Linked DNA regions of Homo sapiens: region 1 is linked to region 2. Evidence: promoter capture Hi-C in human tissues and cell types (Jung and others, 2019). All regions are on one chromosome and are shown on one strand. Each heading gives the region's core, a stretch centred on a gene start or on the middle of the fragment in contact. The rest is flanking DNA. Distances are from core to core; before and after follow the strand shown. Region 1 overlaps LOC107986335 (a long non-coding RNA gene). Region 2 holds the start of FAT1 (FAT atypical cadherin 1).

Region 1 (6,213 bases), core at 1,777-4,276, 510 kb before region 2:
TCAGTCTGGTTATGAACAGTTTCACTAATTGCTCAATAATTATTATTAATATCTATTTCATAATACAACAGAAACTAAAATCCCTGTTGTTTTAGATGAAGAAATATGAGGCTTAGCTTGTACCATGAACTTGCCCAAGGCCATTTACACAGCTAGTAAGTGTCAACATTAGAAATTGAACATATGTCTTACTTAATTCAGGGCCCATGCTCAAAAACACCATTGCTCTTCATCTTTCCCCCATGGAGTTGGTCTCCTGTTCTCCATGCTTCCCTAGCACCCCCTGTCAGGAGAAAAGTGCTCTCATAAATCAATACTTACTATGATAGGTCCCTGAATATTTTGGTCAACTTCCACTGCCCATCTAATGAATTGTATTTTTAAAGAAGCTACCTAAATATCTAGAAGGGCAATGAGTAATTCTATCAAAAGGCTTTCTATCTGGATGAATGGAGGGTGTAGGGGCAGGTGAAATAATGAGAACTAAATTCCCTCTCTTATCACCTTATGGAAACAACTTCTAACTCCATCTAAGTGGAAGCAAAGGCCTTGTGGGTTCTTTCCTGCCTTTGGACTGTAAGTTGCACAAAAATATATACCCTTGGAAGAGTATGATGACAATGACAGACAACAAGACTGAATACAAAACCATTTCTGCATAATTGTCAAACAGTTATTTTTTATTTACAATTCCTATTAGGATGTAAAATACATCCTAACTCAGTTCTTTAAAAATTAATATAAAATAGCATATATGCCTTAGGCCTGGTAATCTCTTCTATTAATAAATTTCATTTCCAGGAATCAAGCCATCTTCCTTAGAATATCATCAAAAATCCAGTGGTTTTGCCCCAGCCAGTTCATTAGCTTATGTCCACACATGAACTGGCATCCTTAAAATTTTTATAAATTTTCTCTACAATATGTGTTTTAATCAAGTCTTTTTTTATGACCTAAAATAACCTAAGGGTTCAACTGTCTTTCTTTACATAACATTGGCTGCTCTTCTGGCAAAATCAGAAGTCCTTTTACCCTGTCTTTTTTTTGTGCAGCTTTTCCTTGATGACCAAGATCCCCAGGCTCCAGGAACATCAGTGAGACTTCTACCTGAAGTTGCCCTTTGTGATAATGCACACTCTGGAGTTCTCTGTTATTCAATTTCCCCCCTTGGTAGTTTCAGTAAAATATCATGGTGAAAACCCATCTCTACCAAAAATACAAAAAAAAAAAAAAAAAAATTAGCCGGGCGTGGTGGCGGGCGCCTGTAGTCCCTACTCGGGAGGCTGAGGCAGGAGAATCGGCTTGAATCCGGGAGGCAGAGGTTGCAGTGAGCCGAGATGGCACCACTACACTCCAGCCTGGGTGACAGAGCAAGACCCCGTCTCAAAAAAAAAAAAAAAAATCACCTGCCATTCTTCTGATATCCCCAAGGTTGCGACATTACGGATGCTATCTTAGGAGGCTCCATATTCTGAACCTCCCCTGTGGATTACCTCTCCTCTCTGGGAAACGCTGTGGGCCCTGGTGTGGCTCTGCATGTCACTCGCTGCTGACACTCACCCCAGTCGAAGGAGTTGGTGCTGACAGAGAAAGTGATTTGATTCAGGGTGGAACACAGTCACAGTAGTGATGCGTGGTGTGGATGACTACATATAACGCTTACTGAGCACCTATTGCATGCCAGTGTGCTGAGCTCTGTTCTCCCTCACAGTAACTGAATGGGAATGTATTATTACTCTTCGGTAAATTTCAGAAGCCAGGAAAGAAAGCACAGAGAACCTAAGTTATTTGCCCAACATTCCACACAGCAAGCTGGGAGTGGATATTTTAACCTAGGCAGCGTGGTTCAAGAGCCTGCTCTGCTAGCGATCTTACAAATTGCCCATGGCGTTGTGTGGGGAACATACTGAGATGGCAAAGCTGTGGGCAACCAGGCAAATGAGGATGGATGGGACATTTGGAGTGAACAGAGTTCCGGGCATCCCAGACCCTACAGTTGTTTGAAAAGAATAAAAATTAGCGTGAAGGGGTCATCAAGGATGAACACTTTCAAAATTATAAATTCATTTTACTCAGTCTTGGTACAGAAAAATACAGATGGCTGCATAGTTTATGCTGGTCTATGTACATAACCAGCAAAATAACTAAAGCCCTTGGCCTTTGGGAAGATTGCCATTGTGATTCCAGATGCTTAGATGTGCTATGTGGACTAAGCCAGGCAGAGGCCCTTAGGTGAATTAGTACCATTCTGTGAATCATGTCTCAAACATGTAGACTATGTCCTGTATTTTTACTTATTAAGCCATCATGAAAGATAAAGCTGCAGAGAATTCCCAAAGCACCCATAAACAATGGAAAAAGGCCCAACTGTTGTTTTGTTCACATTTCAGTTTTCCCACATACCCCTCTTCTTCTCAAACTGCAAAATTGCTATTCATCTCCATGTTGACTTCAACAGAATGGGGCAATCTGCAGAGATCATTGTCTTCTAGGAGCAAATAGTAATGAAGCTTGCTATTTAAATCTTTTTTTCCATGGATACACTTGAGTATTTAAATTGCACATTTAAAAGTAATGAGCACTTCGTGCTGTTTCCGTCTGCCTCTAACTGCTCTCTCTCATTATCTAAGAGAAAGCATTGAATTCCGAGCTCCTCAAATGAAATGGAAGAGAATTTTTACCGGTTTTTGTTTTTTATTCTCATAATTCCTCAGTTCTCCCAAGCCTTGCCCAACTCTTTTTTGTGGCTTCCATGCTTTTTTAAAATGACAAACAGCTCCTCAAGCTGCCTCAGCAATAATGCCTTCTGCCTGCTTTTAAAAGAGCTGTCACAATTAGTATACTCACTACATATGGGTTTCCCCTACATACTTCCTCCAAATCAATGATATTAACTTTTTGTGCTGTGAAATTCTTTACAAAACAGTCAAGCTACGATTAGTGTATTTCGCTTGTTGCTTAATGTGTGACTTGCTATTCTGCCAAGTCAATGATTTCCAGTCGGAGGTGTCATCATAAAAAAAAAAAAAGATGATTTAAAAATAAGCTTGCTGATGCTCAGTGACCCAGGCTTTGCAGGGCAGGCTGCACCTAACCATGAGTTCTCCTTTTTAACAAGGATGCACCCTTGGAAATCTCAATTTAGATACAATGCCTGTTTCTCAATTAGATGGTCCTTTTTCCTGCCTCCTTGGGCTGGAGTAATTGAAACACAAGGCTGTCACACGGCCTGTCCAGACTGTGCCCCGAGTCAACAAGTTTGTACTGAACAGTGTCCCTCTGGCTGGCAGTCTGCTTGCCATTCTGCTGTGCTCCCCGGGCCTCCCTAAGCTGGTTTTCCTCACTGCTGCCAGGAGCAACGGGTGGCAGCGCACGTCACAGACTTCCTCTGTGCAGAACGATGATCTCCGCGAGGACACAGATCTGCGCTCCCGAGGAAGTCCAGCCACCCCCTCGCCGCCCACCCCCACCTGTCCTAATGACTCTATATTAAACTATGATTTTTTTCTTAATTAGAAGGTATTTTTAAAAAGCAAATCAAGTGTAAATGCTAGAGTAACTCACTGTTTTTTAAACTAAACTGGTTTATAAAAATTAAAATAAGACATCAGAGAAAATAGGTTTTTTTTTAACAACAAGCAATTAAGGGAGCATGAAACCCTGTTGAAAGCCGTTTTTAAAGAGTTAAACCAAAACTGCATGAGTCTATATTCGACGTCTTAAATATAGATGAGATGGTACTTTTAGATACAGAGAGGAGAAACTCTCCCAGATCTCTTTTTACAACTTGCTCAAAAAGGGATTCATGTTGTAGCTTCGTTAATTTTTTCATCACGTTATTTCATATTGTTGTTTTAAAATATATGCCAACTATATATAACGGATAATATGTAAGAATGATAAAAAGGCTACTACCCATTTAGCCACCATTGTACATTATCAATAGCTTTGGTATTTTATTATGTTGAATTTATCAATACTTATATGAAAATATTAATATTCCTGAACAATATTTAGTTTTGCCTAATTTTAGCTTTTATAATAATAAATCTTACCAAATATAAATGTGTATTTGTGCGCATGTGATTTTCTTTTACTGCTCAGTATTATGTTTTTGAGATGCATACATGTTTAAATATGTGACTTTCATTTGTTTATTCTGGTTTTAGAAAACACCAAATTGTTTCCAAGTTTTGCTTTTGTGAAAATGCAGCTACAAACATTGTTGTATATATCTCTTGGTGCATATAGGCAAGAGTTTCTTTAGCTTATATGCCAAGGAGTGGAATTTCTGTGTTTATAGGTAACGTACGTGTTTACCATTACTAGGTAAAGCCCCAAAGACCGCTGATTAATGGGAGTCACAATCTTCTGAACATTTGTACTATCAGATTTAAATTTGTTTTCCCAGTCTGTTGGTGTCAAATGGCAGCTAACTGTGATTTTTACCTTCATCCTCATGATTTCTAGTGGGATTTAACAACATTTTTTTTCATAGATGTATTAGTAATTCATGATTGCACTTTTGTAAGCTACCTGTTCATATTTTTGCACAATTTTCCGTCGAGCTGTTTGTTTCTATATATATTCAAGTTTATATATTCTGGACCCTGACTTTTATCACTAGTATGTGTTGCTGGTCTTGTGTCATAGTTTGCTTGTTTTCTCACTCTCTTTTTGTGTGTTATGATGAACATGAAGTCCTAATTTTAATGTGATAAAATTTAACCATATTTCCTTTACGGCTAGTGCATTTTGTTCTTATTTGACAATCATGTTGCCACCACCAAGTCATAAATATATTATCATATGTGGTCTTTAACATTTGTTAGTGTTCCTTATTATTTAATTTTTTGATCAGTCTGGAATGGATTTTTAGCTAACTGCTCCAAAACCAATCCACCAATTTACAGTTTCATTTCTGTCATGCATCTATATTTTTACACACATGTGTCTTTGTTTCTAGATTCTTTATTCATTGCATTCAACTATTTGGCTTTTCTTGAATTAATATCCACTATATCACAACTACAGCTTTTTAATAAGCATTGTCTTTCATAGGGGACGTCTTCCTGACCTAATCTCCTTCTTCAGGTGTGACTGGACATTCATGCCCTTTGCTTTTCTATATCTATATTTTAATCTGCTTATTTAGTTTGATGACAACCTATTTTAGAATTCTTCTTGGAAATGTCAATAATCTCTGGATCAATTTTGGGAAAACTGACAAATGTATGATACTGAGTTCTCCCTGCCAATGAAATGGTATAACTTTCTATTTATTTAAGTCTTCTTTGATATTTTTCAGCTAATGTTTTATAATATTCCAAAATAGAAATTGCATACAAAATATACTATTTACAGTGGCAGCAAAAATATGTGATGTCGCTTTTACATTTATTCCTATGCCACATATTTTTGCTGCCATTGTAAATAGTTTATTTTGTATGGAATTTCTAAGCATTATACAGCAAACTTGTTAAACCACATTGTTAATCTCTGTGTTACTCTGTTTTCACGCAGCTGATAAAGACATACCCAAGACTGGGAAGGAAAAGAGGTTTAATTGGACTTACAGTACCACATGGCTGGGGAGGCCTCAGAATCATGGCAGGGGGTGAAAGGCACTCTTTACAGGCAGCAGCAAGAGAAAATGAGTGAAAGAGGAAACCCCGGATAAACCCATCAAATCTCACGAGACTTATTCACTATCACGAGAATAGCATGGGAAAGACCGGCCCCCATGATTCAAATACCTCCCTCTGGGTCCCTCTCACAACATGGGGAAATTCTGGGAGGTACAATTCAAGTTGAAATTTGGGTGGGGACACAGCCAAACCATATCAATCCCAGTGCTGTGTAGATTGTTTTGGGTTTTCTCATTGCTTTAAGGTAAAGAGAGTGTAGAAATGCTTTGGAAAAGGCTGGAGGAAGTGCGCAAGCACTTTAGAGCTGAGATGCACGTGATAAGCTGTTTAACACTGATAAAGAGAAGAATGAGAGCAGTGAAAAAGCCACTGGGGTACCTTCATGTGTGGAAGATGTCTGGGTGAATTCCTTCTAAATTGTCCATTTATCACTCAAGTTTGAGCCAAACTATCCAAGAGCTTTTACCATCAGTTTCTTAATTTCTGCTTTCTTCTGATTCAAAAATTAACATGTTGAATAATTTATTAATAACTTATTTTTTAGCTTTTAAAAGAGTAAATAAAA
Region 2 (6,326 bases), core at 2,786-5,285:
CCCATATCACAGATGAGGACACTGACATTTAGACAAGTTATGACTTCAAGGCTAAACACACACAACATTCCAATCACCTAATCTTGTTCTCTCCTTACTGTTTAGCTCCCTGCCCAGTTTCCTCTGTGCTCAGAATTTTGCTCTTGACCTTTGTAAAAGAACGACCAGCTAAACTGATCAACATATTTATACCAACGGATGCAAATATGATAGAACCGCCCCCAGCCCCCTTTTGCAAGGATCTTGAATGTTAATGACAATCTTCTGGGGACAATGTCAACTCACAGAAATGGCTCCCTCGGAATTTCACGCTGTTCGGGGAGGTATTTTGGTACTTTAGTGGCATTAAAAATATATTCCACAGCAGATATTTTCCTGGAGGCTGGACACTTACATAAAGACGACGCATTCTTTATAAATTAAACCTCAACAGTGTTTGCATTTATCTAAATGGATATTATTTCGAGGAGGAGACAGTGATTTGCGTATTAGCCCCTATCACTAGGGATGACTTGTAAGACACATTAGGAACTGGCTCCTCCCCTATCCCTTCGCCCCCTCCTCTCAGAACCTTATAAGCTTCAGAGTACGGTCAAGACAAGAGGAGCATTGGGAAAGAATTTGAAAATAAAAATACAGCTCCGTGATTTTCAACACAAAGACCACGAAGAGCATAATAATAAGTCGTGAAAAAAAATTCACATCCAGAAGTTGGAGGGCCACAAAGTACAAGTCGTCCAGGCCAGTCTGCAGAGACTGTTCATGCTTCCGCCCAGCAAAAATCTGGCAGGCGACACATCGCGACGAATTTCGGCTGCAGAAGAGGAAGAGCATCACCTGCAGTCCGCGGCGTGGGAAACGCCGCCGGAGGGGCTCCGCGAGCCGGGGAAGTGCGCGCAGCGGGGCTCCAGGCGGCTCCAGGCGCTGAGTGCGAGGAACGCCCGCGCTCGCCGGCGCCCGGGAGACGCAGCCGAAGGAGGAGGGCGGGCGTTTCACCCGCGCCACAGCTGCGGCCGGCCAGAGAGACCGCAGAGGCCGGGACCCCCGCAGCCTCCACGGCCGCTGCTGCCACTGTCGGGGTGGCGCGCCCAGCCGGAGAATCCCGTCCGCGCCCGGGGCGGGGGGCGAGGCGGGGCGCTGACGTCACCTCCCCTCCCCCACCGCCTCCAAGGGGGAGGGAGTGGGGAAAGAGGCAGCGAGTCGCCGCAGCCGGCGGCCGCAACTCCTCAACTCGGCGGCTGGCTGCCTGGGCACGTCCTGACAAACTTGGCTGCTCCCGGGCCCTCGTTCCGGCCCCGCGCACTCTCTTTTCGCCTGCGTTTGGTGCTTAAGTTTGCCCTGGTCGGAAGCCTCCGGAGATGCGGCCGCCTGGGTCCCGGCGGCACGGACGTTGGCACTCTGGTTAGGGACATGCTGAAGATCCCGGGGAGGCAAAGTTGGTACTTCAAACCCGGCTCTTAACACATATCTACACCGCGAGGGGATCACGGAGCTGCCGAGGACTTTAGAGCCCAGGGCCGAGGACTCGGCTAGACTGGTGAGTTCTTTGTTCAAATCGTGCATGCCTTTTGGCATTTAAGTTTAAACGTTAATGAAATTACGTGGGGTGTGTGGCTCTAAGCGAGTGCGGGGAAGCGTGTGCGCCCTACGGGTTCTCGGCTCCAGGAGCTGCGCATCCCTCTGGCTTTGTGCGGATCGGCGATGAAAGATTCGTATGCATAGCTTTGGGAGTTCATAAAATACATATAGAGCACTGTTAAAAAGAACTTGAGAGGCGATGCTGTTTGTGCATTATTTTGAATGTAACTTATTATAGCAATGGTGCCTAGGGAGGGCGCATCGGGGCCGCGAGATTTGCAGGGGCGCAGCGCCCTCTAGTCCGGGCACCTGGCGAGGCGCGCTCCTTGCAGGGTTCTGTGCGGAGGCGAACCTGGACCTCCCCGGCGCTCGGCGACGTGGGCGCTTGCTCACCCCAGTCTTCACTGACCACCCACCCGGGCCCATTCTTTATATGAGTTACAAAAATCAGCTTGGGTGGACTGGATGTAGAGGCCGTGCTGGAGGAAAGCGTTTTGTTTCTGGAACCGTCTCCCCAACCCCCTCCCTAATTTCCACGAGCCTTTGGGGACAGGGTTAGGGAGGGTCGATTATTTAAAGGACAAATGTGGAACTTGAACCACATTTCTCTCTCTCATATAAAATAATTCGATTTGTGGTAGCTAATAGGCATGTCCATTTCGTTCTGTTGGCGCTTAAGGATCAGTAGAATCGTGGCAGAGTCCTAAGTCTGAAATCTCCATCCCTGGCTCTCGGCGGCTCCTGTGGCGACGAAGTGCAACTTCTTCCAGGCAGATAGATTTCTCAGGGAGCCTGGAAAATCGGGATTCCCAGACAGATGTAAAACATCTAGTAAGCCCTAGGAAGCGTTATTACTTATTAATTAATGGTAATCTTCTCCAGGAATTCTCTTGTGCCATTTAAAAAAAATCCCGTGATTTTACGTCAGGGAATGGTATCTTTGTACTTTTTTTACTGTTCTTCTTTTCCCCTTTTAGCATTACTCCCGCTTCCTCGCTCCCAGGAAACGGCTGGAGTTCCGGTGTGTTTGGGTTTTGCTGAGATTTACAATTCGGCAAGCGGCACAAGCCGGTTGGGCTTGGAGATCAGGTCACCCACTTTCGAGGTGTTCCATGTATGAAATTGACCTGTAAGCACTTGGAGCAATTATGGCCGGGACAAACACGTCTTTGGATGATGGAGTTTGCATTTGCTGGATGTGTGAATCTATGTGTATTCCAACTGGTGGGCAGGGAATATAGGGCTACGAATCGGCACACTCATCTTGCAGGCATTATTTTTCCTTCCCAGCCACAACCTGCTAGACACCTTTATTATTATTATTTTTTCCGGTCACCTCTAAGATGGCTTATAAGGTGACTGCGTTAACTTTGAACCCAGGAAATTCTCTTTCACACTTGACTGCCCTGCCGTTCCCCTCCCCGCCAAGCTCCCCTCACCAGTCCCAGGGAAATCGGATCTCTTTGTCTTCCCAGTGTTAAAATGCCTGAGTCCCACAAACTTTCCGAGATCAAGTCCGCCCTCTTGTCCGGGCTGCGTCCCAGCGCCTCCGGCCCTCCGGGCTTCGGCCGAGTCCGCCCTGCGCCGAGCCTGCGGCTGGAGCCCTGCCCGCACCGGGGATGGGCTCCGCGCCCGGGACGCTCAGGCTGGGCGCCCGGCGCGGGGAGTTCTCGGAGCGGGCTTCTCGGCGCTGGGGCTTCCCCTCTGCCTAGGAACTTGCAGTTGTCGGCCTGGGGTCACGCTTTGGGGCCCCTGGGGCCGACTCCCGGGCTAGGAAGCCCGCGGGACGCCGCGACTGCCTTTTGTCCCACAGGCCTGGGCGTCCGGGGTGTCAGCGGGGGAGGCCAGGCGCCCGCGGCGGGGAGGGCCTGGGGTCTAACTCGGCAGAAAAAGGTCGCGGGGGAAGCGTTTCCATTTTCTGGGGATTGAAGGAGGAAGTAGATTCCGACCTAGCTGCATTCCTTTGGAGACCTGAAGGACGACTTCAGCCCACCAAACCTTCGCGGACCCAGAGCCGCGCCATTCAAATGCAGATTCAGGGGCTCCCAGAAGGCTATGGAAAAGCTAAAGGGATGCCTCTGGGAAGCTTTCTCATTAGGCCCCAGCCTTTTTTTTTTTTTTTTTTTTTTAGCTAAGCTAACGTTTCCCTTTCTTGGCAGGGAGCTTTCCCCAATTCCTTGCACAGCGCCTGTGGCTGGCCGTAACTAACCTCGGCATCACAAGCCTCGCCCTGCCCCTCGGAGCCGCGCTAGACCCCGCTGGGCGCCTTCTCGTCTCCCAGCACGGACCTGGTGTTCGCAGGGACTGGGGCTCTTTGGGTCCGGGCGGGACTGCGTGGCCGAGCCCGCGGTCCCAGAGCCGGCAGCCGGGGAAAGTGGGCTCGAGTTTCCGCGCCCGAGAAATGAGCGCCGGCGCCGGCGGGCGGGGCCGGGGCGGAGGGATCTCCTGCGCTCGGGGAGCGTGAGGCGCCGGCGCCGAGCTGGGCGGCCGGGCGCGGGGAGAGGGCGCGGGAGCGGCTCGTGCGGCAGGTACCATGCGGACGCGCGAGCCCGGCGAGGGCCCCGGCAGGCCCGGTCCCTGCTCGGGGGCGCGCTGAGACGGCGGGTGAGCTCCACGAGAGCGCCGTCGCCACTTCGGGCCAACTTTGCGGTTAGTTCGCTGGGGCGCGGGCCGGCGGGCGGGGGCGAGAGCGTGCAGCGCGCTGCGGTGCGGACTCTGTGGGTGTCCGCCCGGTCCCCGGCTCGGGCTCCGGCGCTGCCGAAAACGGATGAGCGCGCGACTTCCCGGAGGGTGGAGTGACTCGGTCCTTCCCAGTTGGGAAATTCAGCACTGGCTAGGGGGGTCCCGGCGGCGGAGCGGGAAAAGGAGGCGACCGCGCGGGACCGATCCGGGGCCATTGCTGGGGTCCGATCCTTTCTGACACGCCGCCTTCCCTCCGGGAGCTCGCCGGGCTGCGCCGGCCTCGCGGTCTCCTGGGGCATCCCGCCGTCTGCGAAAGACCCGCTCGCTGAGCGGTGCACGCGGGAGGCCTGCGCGGGGCTGCCGGGTCCCTGGGTCTCTGGGTGTTTGCGCCCTGCAGGAGCGCTGCCCGGAGGTGCAGATGCAACCGGTGGACTGCGGAGTGAAGGGCTGCGAGGCTGCATTTCGGGGCTGAACATCTGCACAATGTGCGGTTTGTCAGTGTTTTCTGTCTTCTCTGGAGGAGGAACTTCTAAGATCTTTTTAAAAGAAAGAGTTTTTGGTCCTTCATTGCCTTTAAAAAAAAATGCTTTCTTTTAGAGAGCCAGCTTTCTGCTGTGTGTTAGATTTTTTTGTTCCCGCTGATGTGAATTGCAAGGCTTTGGAAACAAGGACGCAATTGTATGAGTTAGGAAAGTAAACTCATAAATATTTTCTATGCAGTTAAGTTTTTTTTTTTGTCTGAACTGTGGTTTCATTAAGTGGCTTTTGTTAAGCAATTCCCGGGTGCCTGATAGAGGCGATTTTTTAAAAGTGGATATTAACAGTGATTATTAGTATGAGAAAAGATTGAAAAGAAAATGACCTTCAGATATTCATTTCCTTTTCAAAAGCAGATTCTTAATGCTTCGTATATTCAGATACAGGTTTCGATAGTTTAAGAAGGTATCTGTGTGTGAGAACTAGGTAATGGTGATGTTTTTCACACTATTCTTAATGAGTTTGGTTATGCTGTCCAACACATCCAGTTGTTACAGGGACGTTTGAAAAGGTGTTTCTCCAGTTAATAGTTAATTGTGATATTTGTCTTTGTCTTTTTGTCTTAGGAAGACAGCTCTGATTCCACAGTTAGAATTATTCCTTTGTATTTAAGATGTAAAAATACTTAAAGCACTATGTAATTTTTTAAAACAACAATTGGTATAAGCCTTGAGTGATGCTAAACATGGCATTTAACAAGCTCAAGGTAAGGTTTGATTTGAATGAAGTTTGCATTTGTATAACCATTTTTTGAAAAATGAACACCTTAAATGAGCCAAATTCTTTGGCACTCTGGAAAGAAGTGTGGTTGTTAGAGGACTTTATAAAATCATTTCGGGCCACCTGTATATTCATTTGTCTCTTTTGAAGTATCCCCGTTGGGTTCTCATCATGTTAGTAGATCATTTAAATCCATGGTCCGGACAGGTGCCAACAGAAAAATGTTTAAAAATTATGGCCGGGCGTAGTGCCTCACGCCTGTAAACCCAGCCCTATGGGAGGTCGAGGCGGGCGGATCACCGGAGGTCGGGGGTCCGAGACCAACCTGACCAACATGGAGAAACCCCGTCTCTACTAAAAATACAAAATTAGCGGAGTGTGGTGGTGCATGCCTGTAATCCCAGCTACTTGGGAGGCTGAGGCAGGAGAATCGCTTCAACCCGGGAGGCGGAGGTTGTGGTAAGCCGAGATCGTGCCATTGCAATTCAGCCTGGGGAAAAAAAAGAAAAGAAAAAGAAGAGAAGAAAAATCTTTAAAAATTATGCACAAACTAATTCTGTTTTCATTCCCCTGATCATCCTCTACCTTTCCATTGCCTTTAGACTTTGCTTTGAGGTCCCTTTGAAGCAGTCGTTTCTTTGAATGTTAGAGGTGGATAGGATCTTAGAGATTATGTTTTAACACTTTACCCGCTTGCTTTCCACCCAAGTTTGGCTGATTTTACGTAGAATCAATCAGCCAAATCAAATTAGTACATTATTATTGCATTAGATTCTGTCTCAGTGGCATAATTTGTAGCCTAAAGGACC

Evidence for each region. The method cuts DNA at HindIII sites, captures the fragments that hold promoters and counts their contacts. A contact is called where the count stands out against the background at its distance.
Region 1: a contact is called between a fragment that was not itself captured here and the fragment with the promoter of FAT1 in region 2, in 1 of the 25 tissues and cell types used here (mesendoderm cells).

What each region holds. Positions count from the first base shown.
Region 1 is chr4:187,232,736-187,238,948 of GRCh38, reverse strand. All of the region lies in intron 1 of LOC107986335 (a long non-coding RNA gene), which reads left to right. Among named protein-coding and RNA genes, the nearest start is that of LINC02374, 34 kb to the right of the region's middle. The HindIII fragment of the contact is 4,020 bases long and covers 1,017-5,036 here.
Region 2 is chr4:186,721,565-186,727,890 of GRCh38, reverse strand. FAT1 (FAT atypical cadherin 1) reads left to right here and starts at 4,035. Exons shown (of 27, transcript NM_005245.4): 1 at 4,035-4,227. RefSeq lists enhancers at 909-1,410, 2,593-3,592, 4,093-4,594. The HindIII fragment of the contact is 8,530 bases long and covers 1-6,326 here.